2 separate regions of the Homo sapiens genome follow, and region 1 is linked to region 2. Evidence: promoter capture Hi-C in human tissues and cell types (Jung and others, 2019). All regions are on one chromosome and are shown on one strand. Each heading gives the region's core, a stretch centred on a gene start or on the middle of the fragment in contact. The rest is flanking DNA. Distances are from core to core; before and after follow the strand shown. Region 1 overlaps VAPB (VAMP associated protein B and C). Region 2 holds the start of ZBP1 (Z-DNA binding protein 1).

Region 1 (3,265 bases), core at 264-2,763, 790 kb after region 2:
AGCATTTAAATCATATGTAGATCAGGAGACTGTTTAAAGATTTAATGGAATACTTTTCCCATAAAATGCTCTTAGGTTTCCTGACAAGTTTATTCAGCCATTTTTTTATGACATTTTCAACACCTGGAACCTGACCTCTTCATGTTGTGCTGGATTGTGACGGTCTTTGACCTTCAAACCAGAACTTTATACATCTTAAGGCCCAATTTTTGTAATTAAGAGTAAAAAGCAACTATTTCTTCTTTCACTTTTAATGGTATGCAAGTTTTTGCTGGTATTGTATTTGCCTTCTTTTTTTTTTTTTTTTAATTTATTTTTTATTGATAATTCTTGGGTGTTTCTCACAGAGGGGGATTTGGCAGGGTCATAGGACAATAGTGGAGGGAAGGTCAGCAGATAAACAAGTGAACAAAGGTCTCTGGTTTTCCTAGGCAGAGGACCCTGCGGCCTTCCGCAGTGTTTGTGTCCCTGGGTACTTGAGATTAGGGACTGGTGATGACTCTTAACGAGCATGCTGCCTTCAAGCATCTGTTTAACAAAGCACATCTTGCACCGCCCTTAATCCATTTAACCCTGAGTGGACACAGCACATGTTTCAGAGAGCACAGGGTTGGGGGTAAGGTCACCGATCAACAGGATCCCAAGGCAGAAGTTTTCTTAGTACAGAACAAAATGAAAAGTCTCCCATGTCTACTTCTTTCTACACAGACATGGCAACCATCCGATTTCTCAATCTTTTCCCCACCTTTCCCGCCTTTCTATTCCACAAAGCCGCCATTGTCATCCTGGCCCGTTCTCAATGAGCTGTTGGGCACACCTCCCAGACGGGGTGGTGGCCAGGCAGAGGGGCTCCTCACTTCCCAGTAGGGGCGGCCGGGCAGAGGCGCCCGTCACCTCCCGGGTGGGGCCGCTGGCCGGGCGGGGGGCTGACCTCCCCACCTCCCTCCCGGACGGGGCAGCTGGCCGGGCGGGGGGCTGACCCCGCCACCTCCCTCCCAGATAGGGCGGCTGGCCTGGCAGAGGGGCTCCTCACTTCCCAGTAGGGGCGGCCGGGCAGAGGCGCCCCTCACCTCCCGGATGGGGCGGCTGGCCGGGTGGGGGGCTGACCTCCCCACCTCCCTCCCGGACGGGGCAGCTGGCCGGGCGGGGGGCTGACCCCGCCACCTCCCTCCCAGATAGGGCGGCTGGCCTGGCAGAGGGGCTCCTCACTTCCCAGTAGGGGCGGCCAGGCAGAGGCGCCCCTCACCTCCCGGACGGGGCGGCTGGCCGGGCGGGAGGCTGACGCCCCGACCTCCCTCCCGGACGGGGCGGCTGGCCGGGCGGGGGGCTGACCCCCCACCTCCCTCCCTGACGGGGCGGCTGGCCGGGCGGGGGGCTGACCCCCCAACCTCCCTCCTGGACGGGGCGGCTGGCGGGGCGTGGGGCTGACCCCCCCACCTCCCTCCCGGATGGGGCTGCTGGCCTGGCGGGGGGCTGACCCCCCCCACCTCCCTCCCGGACGGGGCGGCCGCCGGGCGGAGACGCCCCCCACCTCCCAGACGGGGTGGCCGCCGGGCGGAGAGGCTCCCCACCCCTCAGACGGGGCAGCCGCCGGGCGGAGGGTCTCCCCACTCCTCAGACGGGGCGGTTGCCGGGCAGAGGGTCTCCTCACCTCTCAGACGGGGCGGTGGGGCAGAGATGCTCCTCACCTCCCAGACGGGGTCGTGGCCGGGCAGAGGCGCTCCTCACATCCCAGACGGGGCGGCGGGGCAGAGGCGCTCCCCACATCTCAGACGATGGGCGGCCGGGCAGAGACGCTCCTCACTTCCTAGATGTGATGGCGGCCGGAAAGAGGCGCTCCTCACCTCCTAGATGGGATGGCGGCCGGTCGGAGACGCTCCTCACCTCCCAGACTGGGCAGCCAGGCAGAGGGGCTCCCCACATCCCAGACGATGGGTGGCCAGGCAGAGACGCTCCCCACTTCCCAGACGGGGTGGCGGCCGGGCAGAGGCTGCAATCTCAGCACTCTGGGAGGCCAAGGCAGGCGGCTGGGAGGTGGAGGTTGTAGCGAGCCGAGATCACGCCACTGCACTCCAGCCTGGGCACCACCGAGCACTGAGTGAACGAGACTCCGCCTGCAATCCCGGCACGTCGGGAGGCCGAGGCCGGCGGATCACTTGCGGTTAGGGGCTGGAGACCGGCCTGGCCAACACAGCGAAACCCCGTCTCCACCAAAACCAGTCAGGCGTGGCGGCGCGAGCCTGCAATCGCAGGCACTCTGTATTTGCCTTGTAAAACAGATCAATTCTAGCCCCTCTTACTGTCTTACTCTTACCTCTTATTGCCTTAAACACAATTTAAAATGACAAAAATCCAAGCACAGTGGGTCCTGGGGGAAGGTAGAGGAAATAAATTATACTGTGTTTAGCTTTATCTAAATACCTTTTACAGCATGTCAAGGAATTCATTTTCAGTTCATTAGTGCTGTTTCATAAGCATCTTCAGCAAACTCACACAAATGTTCACAGATGAGTATATGCATAATCTAGGACATAAAGGGCATTGTTTACATTATTAAAAAGAGTAACAGTTTCAAAGAGTATTGCCAGTTTCTCCCAAATTCATGTTTTTTCACTTTTTTAACCTCCCATTTCACATTTTAGATGCTTAGTTCCTGGTTTTGTTACAGACATTATCTGAAATAAGGAATAGAAGATTAAAAATGATTTGAAGTGTATGCTGTGGTTCTAGAGACACATCATTTTTTTTTATCTCTAAAAAGGAAAAATTCTAAGTTTAGAAGGAGATTTCATTTGTAAAATTGACTGTACTTTATAAGCAGTGTTTAAATTCATTGGTGGTAAATATGCATGTTGGTATAGTAAAATCCCATTTTTTACATAATGCTTTAATGGAAATGGCAGTTTTATGAAATGAAAGTGACTAGTAAAAGTCTGAATGATGCTCATAAGCTTTTACATCATTTTTATTGAAGGTTTTGTGTATGCTAATCCATTAATACAGGGGAAAAGGAGAACACTAACATGGTTTATTTTCTATAATTACTCAAATAGAATATAATTTATTTTCAATAAAATTCTTGGAGCAAATTGCCCAGAGTAGGGAGAGGAAGGTTGGCCTGTTCTTACAAATATCTTGATTTTTACCCACGGGACTTTGTTATTTTACCAGTGATGTTGTTTCATTGCATATATTTTCAGTATAGTTCCCTCCAGATTTTTACAAATAAAAGCCTGTGAAAGGCCAAGAAATCCCAAGCATGTAA
Region 2 (3,094 bases), core at 336-2,835:
AAAGTGCTGGGATTGCAGGCGTGAGCCACTGCGCCTGGCCGCAGTTTTGATTCTGGAAGGCTGACCTTAGGGAGCCACTGCCTCGGCTCCACACACCCCAGAGGAGATGGGGGTCAGAGGTGTGGATGCAGGACAAGCACTGGCCCTGGGCTGGCCTCGACTGCTGAGTCCCAGGCTACTGTGTCTGAAAATGGGAAATTGTAAAATGGAGCAGGTGTAGGCAACAATTTGGTCACAAAAGGAAAATCAACTGGGGAGGAAGACAAGAAAAGCCAGCGAGGGCTGAGTCCGGAACCTGCGTCAGCACCCGTGAGTCCCCGAAGAGGAAGCTCCACAGGACCTCCGCGGTCAGCCCGGCTCCTGGGCCACACCCTGACATTAGCCCTCCCGGGGCACACTCTGTGTTGGTTTTTTAAAATTCTGATGGCTGATTTCCTGGGTTTGAGCTCCTAGCCCTGCCAACTACTAGCTGTGTGACCTCCCCTCCGGCTTCAGGTTCCTCTTCTGTGAAATGGAGACAGTAATAACTACTTCAAAGATTGTGGTGAGGATTAAAAACAAAACAAACACATCCCCCAAACCGCAAAACCACACTTCACCTACAGTCCACAGCGCTTAGTGGAGACCCTAGAGAACAGCAATTACTCGATACACTATTGGCTTTCATTGCAACTCTTCCAGGAATAAAATGAATGAAATGTTAGTTGAGGAAAGGATGCAACAAGGGGGAACAAAGGCACACATGTATCTCATCAAAGCAAACCGCTTTGTTCTCGATATGACTGTGACATGGGTGTTCAGACGCTAACACCAGCGTTCGCCAGCTGTGTTACCCTGAGAGTGTCATTTCACCTCTCAGGGCCTCAGTTATCTATAAAATGGGAATGACATGGCACTTGTCCCTGCAGGCCATCAGGAAATGCTTGGAAAGCATGTTTCGAGGTGCCTGGGGCACAGTCAGCTGTCAAAGGGGGATGGCTATGCTGTCCCTTTCTATTTTTTTTTTTTTTTTCTGAGATGGAATCTCACTCTGTCACCCAGTCTGGAGTGCAATGGCGACATCTCAGCTCACTACAACTTCCACCTCCCGGGTTCAAGCGATTCTCCAGCCTCAGCATCCCGAGTAGCTGGGATCACAGGCATGCGCCACCATGCCCGGTTAATTTTTGTAATTTTAGTAGAGATGGGGTTTCGCCATGTTGGCCAGGCTAGTGTCAAACTCCTGAGCTTAAACAGTCCACCTACCTCGCCTCCCAAAGTGCTGGGATTACAGGCGTGAGCCACCACGCCCAGCTGGTCTACTATTCTTTAGGATACTGCTATTGTCATCATGATCTGGACCAAGCGAAACAGGAGGAAAGAGAAGTAGAAATCTCACCCCGGGAGCTACCGCTGGTCCTTGGAAGGAAGAAGTACTGTACCTTCTCTGCCCGGGTCAGCAGGAGCCTGGGCCATGCTGACAGCAGCTGCAAGGAGTCGGAGAGACTTGGCAGGTGTGCAGGCTTCTGCACTGTGGCCCTGAGAGGGTGGGCTAGGTCGAGGCTGGGGCTTCTGAAGTGGCCGAGCCTGGTGCTTCTTGCAGCTCTGAACCCACAAGGGGAGGGATGCCAGCTTCCACTGGGCAGGTGTCAGCTGCTTACAGCCCGGAAATAGATGCCTAGCCAGGCCGGCCAGATTCGGTTTCAGGAGAAAAAGAAAATGAAACTTCTCTGTTCGTCTTTTGAAAGAAAAAAAAAGTGGAAGCCAGGTGGATGAGCAAGACAGAGTTGGGGACCTGACTTGATGTTGACAGGGAGGAGCTGTAAACTTGGCAAGACCAGAGCGTCCTCCGAAGAGGCCTTTGAGACAGAGGACTTCCCTCACCTTCCCCGTTCCAGGCACAGCCCACCTGGACCTCTACATTTTTATTTTCTGAATCAGCATCAGAGAACTGAAGAAAATAAAAATAAAAAAAAGAGCATGCACCACGTGGAGGGGGATGCCAGGGCGTGGCATCACTCTGATGATGTGAGGGGCTGGGGCTGGTTATCTGGTTTCTGTGTTTTTGTTTGTTTTTGAGACAGGGTTTCTGTCATCCAGGCTGGAGTGCAGTGGCGTGATCACGGCTCACGGCAGCCTCGACCTTCCGGACTCCAGCGATCCTCCCACCTCTCAGCCTCCCTAGTAGCTGGGACCACAGGCCTAGACCACCATGCCCGGCTAATTTTTGTATTTTCTGTAGAGATGGGGTTTCATCGTGTTGCCCAGGCTGGTCTCAAACTCCTGGGCTCAAGCGATCTGCCTGCCTTGGCCTCCCACAGTGCTGGGATTCCAGCCGCAAGCCCCCACGCCCGGCCCCGCTGGTTCCTGTAGTACTTCCTCCTCGGGGACTCACAGGTGCTACAGAGGCACCGTCCCCAGCTCTCAGTGGCTTTTCTTGTCTTCTTCCAGTTTGTTTCCCTTGCCCACACTAGGGGCAGAACATTTAGGTGCGTGAAGGCCCTGAGATTGTTCTTGTGTGTATCCATGTGAGCCTCTTTAATGAACACCTATTATGCGTTTTCCAATCTCAAGTGCTCCTCCAACCCATCTACAGGGTAGGGGCCAGTTCTGTCTTCTTCTCAGGGGGGAAACTGAGGCTAGAAAGGCAAGATCACTTGTCCAAGGCCACACAGAGTCCATGACAGAGCTTGTCCTGTCCATTCCCCAATTGTGTTTCCTGATCTATAACACCCAGAAGTCACTGGTGAATCACCCTTAGTGCACAGATGGCGTGGAGTTCCCCGCCTCATCATAAAACTTGCTTATTAATTCCAGAGTCAGATGCCTGGGGTCAGCAGCCGAGTGGTTCGGAATGCAAGCCTGGGTCAGCATGCTTGGGTCCAAACCTGGCTCCGCCATTTACCGGCTGTGTGACCTCGGACAAATTATTTAACCCCTCTGTGCCTCAGTTTCCCCATGTGTAAAAGGACTTAATCAAAGGACCTAGCGCATGGGGTCGAGGTGAGGACCTAAGGGGCTGATACAGCCCAGCTGTCGGGCTAGAGCCCCAGAGCCATCCGTAGTCACGGGCACCGTGGTCACCTCACAGGAATGCTTCTGGGAGAGGACCCGT

What was found. Contacts are between HindIII fragments. The study calls those that stand out against the background at their distance.
Region 1: a fragment that was not itself captured here is called in contact with the fragment with the promoter of ZBP1 in region 2 in 1 of the 25 tissues and cell types used here (spleen).

Annotation. Positions count from the first base shown.
Region 1 is chr20:58,412,849-58,416,113 of GRCh38, forward strand. The region is part of intron 1 of VAPB (VAMP associated protein B and C); the gene reads left to right. Among named protein-coding and RNA genes, the nearest start is that of VAPB, 25 kb to the left of the region's middle. RefSeq lists enhancers at 249-1,040, 1,041-1,830. The HindIII fragment of the contact is 4,477 bases long and covers 1-3,265 here.
Region 2 is chr20:57,618,841-57,621,934 of GRCh38, forward strand. It overlaps ZBP1 (Z-DNA binding protein 1), which reads right to left and starts at 1,586. Exons shown (of 8, transcript NM_030776.3): 1 at 1,422-1,586. The coding sequence starts at 1,455. RefSeq lists enhancers at 176-285, 1,366-1,415, 1,546-1,835. The HindIII fragment of the contact is 12,502 bases long and covers 1-3,094 here.